2 separate regions of the Homo sapiens genome follow, and region 1 is linked to region 2. Evidence: promoter capture Hi-C in 16 types of primary human blood cells and fetal thymus (Javierre and others, 2016). All regions are on one chromosome and are shown on one strand. The core of a region is centred on a gene start or on the middle of the fragment in contact, and the rest is flanking DNA. Distances in the headings are between cores, read along the strand shown.

Region 1 (5,285 bases), core at 167-2,666, 62 kb before region 2:
ATATTGAGAGGTGTATTTATGTGTAATATTTTATGAGATTTGTGATCAGCATAGTGATTTTAATCTTAAACTCTACAATAAATATTCATTTTGCTCTAATTCTGAGGGCTTTGTCATGCTCACTATATATTCTGCCTTTTGATTTTGTATAGACTTTTTATGGCATACTGTTGCAGTAACCCTGGGAGTTGCTGGCTGGCATTTGCAGGCTTACGATATATGCATGAGTATCAGCTACACATATTTCATATGATAGCAATAAGACAGGATGAAAAATGAGACACTATAACTGTGGAACCTCTACGAAACTTTGTAAACTATAAGGTTCTAGAGACATGTTAGCAATCATAATGGTACTGATGATATTGATGAAAATGATTTTATTATGTTGTTATCATTTAGTTTTTGTTTATCATTTAGCCACACAAAAGAGCATATAGCTGTGATTACACAAAAATTTCAGATACACTACACTTTACTTACCAGTGAAATTTTAAAAATAAAATTTTAAAATAATTTATTTTAATAAAATTTAAAAATATGTTAGTGTATATATATACTAACACCTATTTTACATATGTATACTAACACTTATTTTATACTAAAAATAAGCTAATATATATATACTAGTATAAATTAGTATGTATGTAGTATGTATATAATATACACACAGACATAGTGTACCCATGTATACACACACATATATATACATGTAGTATACTAGTATAAGTTAGTATGTGTGTGTGTATACGTATATTATATATAAAATAACACTAAGTTTTTTTGTGTGTAAAATGGGGTTTGCATATGACCAGTGAGTTGGGAGAATCTTTGATTATTACATTTTTATCTTACTGAAATACTGCTTAAATCACAAAGAGAATAAATTTGATGTCCTTTCTATACAAATAAAATGTTACTAGAGTTATAGAGTGAAGAACATGAATAAAGGACAGATTTGGGTATTATAATTGCCAACAATTCCTGGGTAATAAACTGAAATATACCAGTTTTGATATATTTCACATCAGTTTTTACAAAACTGTCCTCTACACTTTCTTTCAATATCTTTATTCTGATTATTATTAATTATTTGGTTCATTCATTCAACAAACAACTTTGGGTATCTTCTATAGGTCAGGAACTATATATGGCACCGATGATACAGAATTTTTTTTTAAATTATCAGCTTTCAATGAGCTCAGTTGAAAGGAGAAGTTTTTTTTAAGTGAAGCAGATTGAAATATAAAATACTGCTAGTGCTGTAATCGTATCATGAAAGGATCAGATGAATGTCATATAACATCTTGAGGTCATAAAAGCTTCCCTGTAGATCATAATTGATGTGAAGTAGAGGACAAGCAGGAATTGGGGGGCTGAAGGTAAACAAGACTAATGTAGATGGAGTGAAGAATATGAATAAAGGGCAGATTTAGGTATTATAATTGCAAATAGTTCTTGGGTAATAAAAAATGTGGCTAGAAATTGATTTGGACAGGTATGAAGCTTCATGAGGGTCTTTTGCACTATGTTAAAAATTTTTAGATTTCCCCTAAAGGCAAAGAAAACGATTAGATGATTTTAAGTGAAGGACCAATATGACTCATGTTACATGAGCAGATATGGATTTTAGAGAGGTCAATCTGAGTAGCCTAGAAAGTGGGTGGGGGGATGTAAAGGAAATTGTTTTAGGAGTCAAGGTTAGTGACAATGACTGTCTAAACTGGCATCATGAAAAAAAGCAATGATGGGTAGGAAACCTATATGAGAAATATTTACAACGTAGAATTGCAGGAATCTGCATTGGATTCAGTGGTTGAGGGAGAGGAGGAAATCCATAATTTCATATCATATCAGCCTTCACACCTTGATGGATATAATTCTATTAAATGTTATAGAAAACACAAGAAGAACATTAAACTATGTTTGTTGTGATAATGGTGATGATTTAGGTGCTTTGTGGTATATCACTGGAGACAACCAGAAAGAATTGGTCTGTGTCTCCAGAGTGAGCTTTTAGTAGCAGACATAGACCATTGGCATGTATATGGAAGGATTAAATGTCTGAGATCAAGAGAGATACCTAGACTGGATATATAAATTGTGGAATTATCAATTAATATAATAAGTATTTGAAAACATTGTAAGGAAAGGAGAGCCAGATGACAAAAAAAGCTTTGTAACATCAGGGAGTATTATATTATGTTAGAAGAGAAGGGGTCAGAATGATGATCTTTAGGATAAGTCAACATTTAGAAATAAAATATGAGTAAATAGCAAAAAAAAATGATATTTTGATGAGACAAGTAGGAGGGAACCCAATATAGTAGAGTATCTGGGAGAGTAAGCTATGGTGAAAGTAGATTGCAATGGCTAAAACCTATTGGCCAATTAGGAAACAGAGACACTGAGTTCAAAAAAATTATTTTTTAAATTATGGCTAAGAAAAAAAATTTACCAAGCATTGAAAGTATGGAGAGCTACATGATTCTTCTTCTTCTTTTATTTATTTATCTTTTTTGAGATGGAGTCTCGCTCTGTCACCCAGGCTGGAGTGCCATGGGACTATCTCAGCTTACTGCAACCTCCACCTCCCAGGTTCAAGTGATTCTCCTGTCTCAGCCTCCCAAGTAGTTGGGACTACAGGCATACGCCACCATGCCCAGCTAATTTTTGTATTTTTAGTAGAGATGGGGTTTCACCATGTTGGTCAGGCTGGTCTTGAACTCCTGACCTCAAATGATCCACCCGCCTCAGCCTCCCAAATTGCTGGGATTACAGGCGTGAGCCACTGTGCCCGGCCTTATATGATTCTTATATGTTATTAAAGGAAATATAAATTGATACAACCACTTTGGGAAACAGTTTGATTTTATCTTCTAAAGCTGAACATGGCTCAGGAATTCTAACTACATATCCAAGAGAAATATTTGCATAAGTACAACAATGCAAATTTACAGGAATATTTACAGCAGTGCTGTTAACAATTTGAAACATCTCGAAACTATCCAAATAACCATTAATGGGATAATGATTGCAAATCCTCCAACAAATACACAGGGACCCATCCATCTGTCTCAGAAAAAAATTTCTCTTCCCACTGAACAAGTCTGAAACTCCCACCCCAGTGTTGATTTCAGCCCTAGTATAAATAAGCAAGAAGGTGAGGGGATTTATGCCTGATAGCCACTAGTTTTATGTGAAGTAGCAGAGGAGGGGTAGGATAATATTTACGTAAATTATCTACTTCACCTCCTTGATTCTCCCAGAGGAGCATGACAATATGAGGTGAAAATAAAAACCAAATTTTCTGTACAATGTCATACAATTTTATAAAGTTAAAACATTAAAAACAAAAAATAATTTTAAGGAATAACAAAGCAATAAAGTATGTATAAAATAAATCAAGGGAATTCATCACATAGGATTCGGTATGATAGTTACATTTTTGAATGAGGTAGGAGGACGGGAAGGAGTGAAATATACAAGTAGATAAATGTAATGGTTATGGTCCTAGCTATAGTTTTGGGTTACAACTAACAAAGTGAGTAACTAAATAAATAAACAGAAGTTCTTGGAGCAATGATAAAAGCGTCTTATGAATGAAATATTGTGAATAATCCTATCGGGCACCTCAAGGTCTAAAAATTAAAAAGAGACAACTCTGTTTTAAAGAGCAGGAAAAAGAAATAATAGAAATCTGGGAAGCAAGAGTGGCTTGAGATTATTATATACAAGAGAAGAGAAACATTGGAGGGAAAATGTTAGAGGAAAAATGATAATAGAAGTGGAATAGCTAGAGATGATGATTCTTTAGGACATAACAGGGGGTGATATCCACACTAGGGATGGAAATTTTGGAGTTTTTCAGTGGGAAGATAAATTTTTTTTCTGAGATAGATGGATGGGTACCAGTGTATTTGTTGGAGGACAAGCAAGAAGATGAGGGAATTTATGCCTGATGGTCACTATTTCTATGTCAAGTAGCAGATGAGGGCATTTTCTGAAAAGGACAGTCAAGGAGGTCTAGTAGATAATTTAGAAAAATATTAAATAATAGAAATATCTGTTGAATTGAGAAAAAGGAGTGATACAATAAGTAGGTTGTATACTGTTGAGGGGCTAAATGATTATAAAAACCATCAATTTGGAGCTGCATTAATCTGCATCTGTACAGTTTTGTGATTTTTTTGCCAGCTGGCCTTCAGATGCTCTTGTGAAGATGAGATGGTGAGTGATAGAATGTTCCAGAGCTGACTGTTTTTAGATGACAAATATTCATTGCATAAAGACTACGGTGCAAGATTGTTAGATGTCCTGCCAAAATTATAAAGTGCTGCACTATGTGGACTTGAGCGGGCGATAAGGAAAGGAGAAGATAATTGATTAGTTATAAGGAAATAGCAGTTTTTAGAAACCAGATGTCTTTCATTTGTCTTTTAATTTCAGGTCTAGAATATAGATATTGGAGTGGATTGCTGAATGGAACAATAGCTCCATTTGTTATAATTGGGAACGTTAAGAGATTATGCAATTGATGTTGGTTTATTTTTACAAGTAGAATCGAAGTTGAATGAACAATGGTGAATAGAGGCAGAATTGTAAATAAAAACTCTTTGTGTAGGAAATCTCTGATGAATTTTTTTTAACAGAGCCATAGACTGTGCTTTTACATTTTTTATTCTTGACTTTTTGGAAGAAATTGCTATTTCTTTCAAGGAATCTTAACTTTCCTTTTGCACATTAGAAGTAGCTGTATAAGCTCTTTCCTCATGTGCTTTCAATGAATCCATTATAAACTTCAACATAGAGACAAATCCCTTTAAATGCAAATATTAATCACAACTTTGAAATAATTGTTTGAAGATGGAGTAAAAGCCAGCTGAATTCTTTAAATTTCCAGTTTATATCTTTTGTTTTATAAATAATTAGTTTTATATACTGAAAAATATAATTTATAAATGGTTTTATTTAAAAATTCATTTTATGTTCTGACACTTCAAAATATTTTATGTTTTTCCCAGACTGTACTTCCACTTCATCAACATCATTCACTTTGTTCTTTAGAATTTCAGTAAATGCCAGGTGCGGTAGCTCATGCCTGTAATCCCAGCACTTGAAGAGGTTAATGCAGGTAGATCACTTGAGCCCAGGAGTTTGAGACCAGCCTGGGCAACATGGTGAAACCTCATCTATTCAATAAAAATAATTCAGTAAATGATGATAATGAAATGATTTTCCATTAAACCCATTCATGATATTAACTTTATAATATAAAGTTTTGC
Region 2 (4,884 bases), core at 970-3,469:
TCTCTTTCAGTCTTTACAGACTGGTTTCGGTAGGTTAAAAGCTTCTCCTGTTAGTGTCCTGGGCTGATGAGATTGCCTTCAGTATCATGGTTGAATGGGGTTACAGCCAGATCACATGGTTGCTTACGGGTCCAGAGTGGGATCTTTGGTTCATGATCCTTTTACTAGGGCTTCTAGCAGGCTTGTATCCTATTTAGTGCCTCAGAGGGCCAAACTGGCTCTAGAATCATACTGTATAGGGCTGGGGAGGGGATGAGGGTCCACTTCAAGGTCTGTAAATGGTGGGTCTATTATTAGGTGTGTAGTTGGGGAAGAGTTTATCTAGTTTGCTGGGAAGGCTGCTCATGGGTCTCTGAGTGGGTTCCTCAACCTGTGGCACAGAGGAGTTAGTGCTAAGTCACAAGGTTTCCTCGGGGTCTATAGCTGAAACCAGTGTCTTCATGTCTGTCTCTGGGGTCATGGTTGAGTGTGTTTTCTGGCAGGTCTGTGGGCAGGCAGATTTGCCTCAGACTGTAGTTGAGTTGGGCTGGAGCTGGATCCAGAATTGTTTCAAGATCTGAAATAAAACTAAGGTCTGTGCCTGCAGGGGCACTAATGATGTCTCTCTCCAGGTCCCTGTATGGGCAAACTGCTCTCTAGCATAGCTGAGAAGTGTCGAAGCCCCTTTTCTGTCCAATTAAAGGATCTGCTGTGAAACCTAGGTCAATGGTCTCCTAGTTGGGACATGGATGCACATGTCCTCCCTCTGTATCCCTGAGCTGGCAAGACTGCTCACAGTCCACAGCTGAGAAGGGTGAAGGTCAAGATTCAAGGCTGTTTCAGAAACTACCGTGGAACTGAAGTCAGCAAGCCTGTACTGCTGACAAAGATGATTGAGTCTCACAGCAATTTCCTGTGATTAACTCAGGTCACAGTTGAGAGGAGTTTGAGTGGAGATTCAGGGCCATTTTAGTATCTTCTGTAGGACAGAGGTCAGCAAGCATGCCCCAGAGGTACAGATGTATATGTCTCCCAGGAAGTCTCTGTGGGTGAAGGACTGATCTCAAGTTGTGGCTGACACTAGTTAAAGCCAAGTTAGAGGGCTGTTTCAGGGTCTACATTGAGACTACAGTTGATATGCCTACCTCCTGAGACACTAGTGTGTGAGTCTCCTCCTGGGCCCCTGGGCAAATGGTTTTGGCAGCATGACCAAGGCCTAAATGGGGCTGAAGGCAAGCACAGGAGGATGGGTCCCTTTTCAGGTCTGGAGATGGAATCACTGTTGGTAAGTCTGCCACTTGGATGCAAATCTATTCCCTAAAACAACCTTCCTAGGTCTTGGGTTCCACTGGCATTTTACAAACTCCTACTTGAATTCCAAACTCCCTCAAAGGAACTTTTGTCTGTGGATGGCTGAAAAATTATTGTTGCTGTGGGGGCATATGTGTGGGGGACCACCTATTCTGCCAATTTACTGACTTTCCTCCTAGTAAGATTTTAAAATTACTTTTTCCCCATACATAGTTTGACTTCAGTTTTTGTCATTTACAACTAAATATTTCTATGAAAGTCGACATAATTTGTTATGGCGGAGGATGAATAAATGAAGAATGTAATGAATAGCTATTTAATATTTCAATTTCTGGTATGCTAATATATTTCAAAATTGATTAATATTTTACCTATCCAAGATATTTTTATCAAGGGTAATCTGAAGATTAAATAATCTATTTTTAAAAATTAAGTGCAAAAATTTAAGAACTAAGAGAAGTTAATAATATAACTTTGGCAATGATGCTTTTTGTGCCAGCTACAATCAATTGAGTAATTACTGCAGTAATTTTTCAGAATAATTAAGGAAAAAATCAGTAGATATCAGTTGATAATATTACTATGAGTTTTAGAATGTTTTCTATTATAATGGAAGTGACATAATAAAATAATATAAAGAAAAGAAGTATGCAATGTTAAGATTTAGCAACCTAGTCTAAAAGGCACTCTTAACAAGGTGAGGGTTGACAATGTTCGTGATCAAGACAGAAAAAAAAAAAATTCTCATAGGCACTTGAAAAATGAACCAACTAAATGACACACTTTCAAAGTCAACCTTGTACTTTTAATAGACCAAGTATCCTATATTTTGGAGGTGTGTGATGAGATAAAACTGATTTCACAATAGCCCATGTGTAGAATTTCCTGTTCAAACCTTAGTAACACGTTGATGAGAAATCTACTTTTTCCACTCTTGACTCACTCTGAGCCTTCACAGGGCAGTCTGCGAAGATTGCAGGCATTGTTTGTTCTTGTCTTGGATTTATGCCTTTAAATTTCACCTTTTATTACACAGCTATAGCAGGCCTTTTTATGAGACTAACCTGGCCTCTCCACTAAAGGATGTGTGACTTTCTGGGGACAGAAGGTATGTATTGCTACTCTCCAACTCTCTACTAGCCTACCTCATTTAGTGGGTGATTTCAAGTGCTCAATATGATACAAAGGAGGTATAATTAATATACAATAAAATCAAAGTAGAATATTGCTGTCTTCATTTGAATAACTCAGGGTAAAAACCTAAAATATGAAATATGTTGAAGGATTTCTTAAAGTTTTCAAATTATTGTTTGTGGAAATCTAGTGGGTTTGTTGATCAATATCGTTTAAGGGAAAGCTATTAACATCACAATAATGAACAATTAATTTTGTATTTTGTAATCAGTACATCATGTATCTTTGAATAATAATTTATATTTAGCTTAGCCATTAAAGATTATTAAAATAAATCAATCAATTGATGAAAGCCAAATACAATTCCTCAGACACGTAGATTAGAGAAAAGCAGTTTTTATTTTTAATAAAAATCAGAATGAGGTAGATTACATAAAATGCTAAAGGTATTACAAAGCAATAAAAATACTTTTTAAAAATTGATCAAAATATTGCAAAAAAAGATGTAGCGCATGGACATAGGAGACTTATCTGAAGATTTATTTTCCATGCTTTAACTGACATGAATCAGAAACAGTAACATAACAATTGTGACTAAAATAATAATTAAAGTAGCTAATGCTTATTGAGAACTTTAAGTGCCAGGTTGAGTGGTAAATGTTTTACATGCAACGTTTTATATGTTCTTATGCCCATTTTAGATTAACAAACTGGGTTATTAAAAATAGAATAACTTTTTAAAGGTCGCACATTATAAGTGTCAAAGCTAGAATTAATTCTAGATCTCACTGACTCCAGAGCCCATTGACTAAATGATTTAATTACATTATCTGAAATTTTACAAGTACTTATACAACTAAAGTGGCCTTTACTCACTTTGACAACCATAAAATCATTCTATAAGTTTAAATGAAATGTGCTTTAACATGAATTACCTATACTTTTATTTATCATTTTTTGGTTCATAATTTAGCCAGGAAATAAATTACCAATTACTAATTAAATTACCAATACTTCTGTAAGTATTAACAATTTATGTAGTGTTCCTAATACTATTTAGGTTATGCATAAGTTAACTGTGTCACATAGCATTTTCTGTCATATACAAATATTTAATTTTTTATAATTTTTAATAAATAATTTTTAATAATTTCTTAGAACATTTCAGCCATTAAGAAAAGACCATTTAATTACCTCTATTGATTTTCATTAATGTGTATAAATTACTAATTAAAAGTAATGTAGTGCAAGAAATTTTTATATATATATATGTCAACTTTACTATTACTCATGTGCAGACCACATAGTCTTAACCATTACTGGATTTCAAAATTAACATAAAAATGAGTGCAGAAGTTTTTCTAATACAACATTTTAATTTTTAACACAGGTAAAACATCAGACTTTAAGAAATATATTTTTATTCCTGAACTTCTTTATTCCTTAGTAATTTATTGCTTCTCATTGCCCCAGCAATAATATTTTGTCAAATGCAGAAAATTTATCTTTTTTTTTTGAGTCGGAGTCTCACTCTGTCGCCCAGGCTGGAGTGCAGTGGCACAATCTCCGCTCACTGCAACCTCTGCCGCCCATGTTCAAGAGATTCTCCTGCCTCAGCCTCCCGAGTAGCTAGGACTACAGGCGCCTGACATCATGCCCGACTACTTTTTGTATTTTTAGTAGAGACGGAGTTTCACCGTGTTAGCCAGGATGGTCTCGATCTCCTGACCTCGTGATCGGCATGCCTCGGCCTCCCAAAGTGCTGGGATTACAGGCGTGAGCCACCGCGCCCGGCCTAAAAATCTTTTTTTAAAACAAATATTCATAAGAAACGTGTTTAGGCTTGAAGAAAATCAGAGAAAGAACTTTAGATTATTTAATGCAAAATGAGCTCCAATACTCGTTCTCCACCTCACCCTTTTAATTGCACTAGGGAATCCTGTATATAAACCATTTATTAACTTCTTAACTACTGTTATTATAGAGTACAGTCCCTGACATCACACACTGCAGAGATGGATAACCAAGGAGTAATCTACTCAGACCTGAATCTGCCCCCAAACCCAAAGAGGCAGCAACGAAAACCTAAAGGCAATAAAAACTCCATTTTAGCAACTGAACAGGAAATAACCTATGCGGAATTAAACCTTCAAAAAGCTTCTCAGGATTTTCAAGGGAATGACAAAACCTATCACTGCAAAGGTAAAGCATTTAAAAGATCCTCAATATAACAGTCTAGGATGTGCAGCTTGGGGTACAGGAATGTGGGGAAAGAGAAGGGAGTGCTCATATATCTTCTATTTGCAAAGATCAGAATTCCAAGTTGAGATATGCTATTTCAATGTAAAGTATGAAGACTGATTGAACTCATTGTTGAAGTTTGTAGTCTTTGTCAAATAATTCATGGAGCATTATTTTTCCTGAAAATTCAATGGTATATTATTCTGAGAAAAAGATTAC

Evidence for each region. The method cuts DNA at HindIII sites, captures the fragments that hold promoters and counts their contacts. A CHiCAGO score of 5 or more calls a contact.
Region 1: a fragment that was not itself captured here is called in contact with the fragment with the promoter of KLRC1 in region 2 in 1 of 17 cell types (total CD8 T cells); the score reaches 5.1 in total CD8 T cells.

What each region holds. Positions count from the first base shown.
Region 1 is chr12:10,511,251-10,516,535 of GRCh38, reverse strand. All of the region lies in intron 3 of LOC105369657 (a long non-coding RNA gene), which reads left to right. It also overlaps a transcript of EIF2S3B not described here. Among named protein-coding and RNA genes, the nearest start is that of EIF2S3B, 8.0 kb to the right of the region's middle. The HindIII fragment of the contact is 184 bases long and covers 1,325-1,508 here.
Region 2 is chr12:10,450,712-10,455,595 of GRCh38, reverse strand. KLRC1 (killer cell lectin like receptor C1) reads left to right here and starts at 2,219. Exons shown (of 7, transcript NM_002259.5): 1 at 2,219-2,398; 2 at 4,409-4,626. The coding sequence starts at 4,440. The HindIII fragment of the contact is 4,540 bases long and covers 44-4,583 here.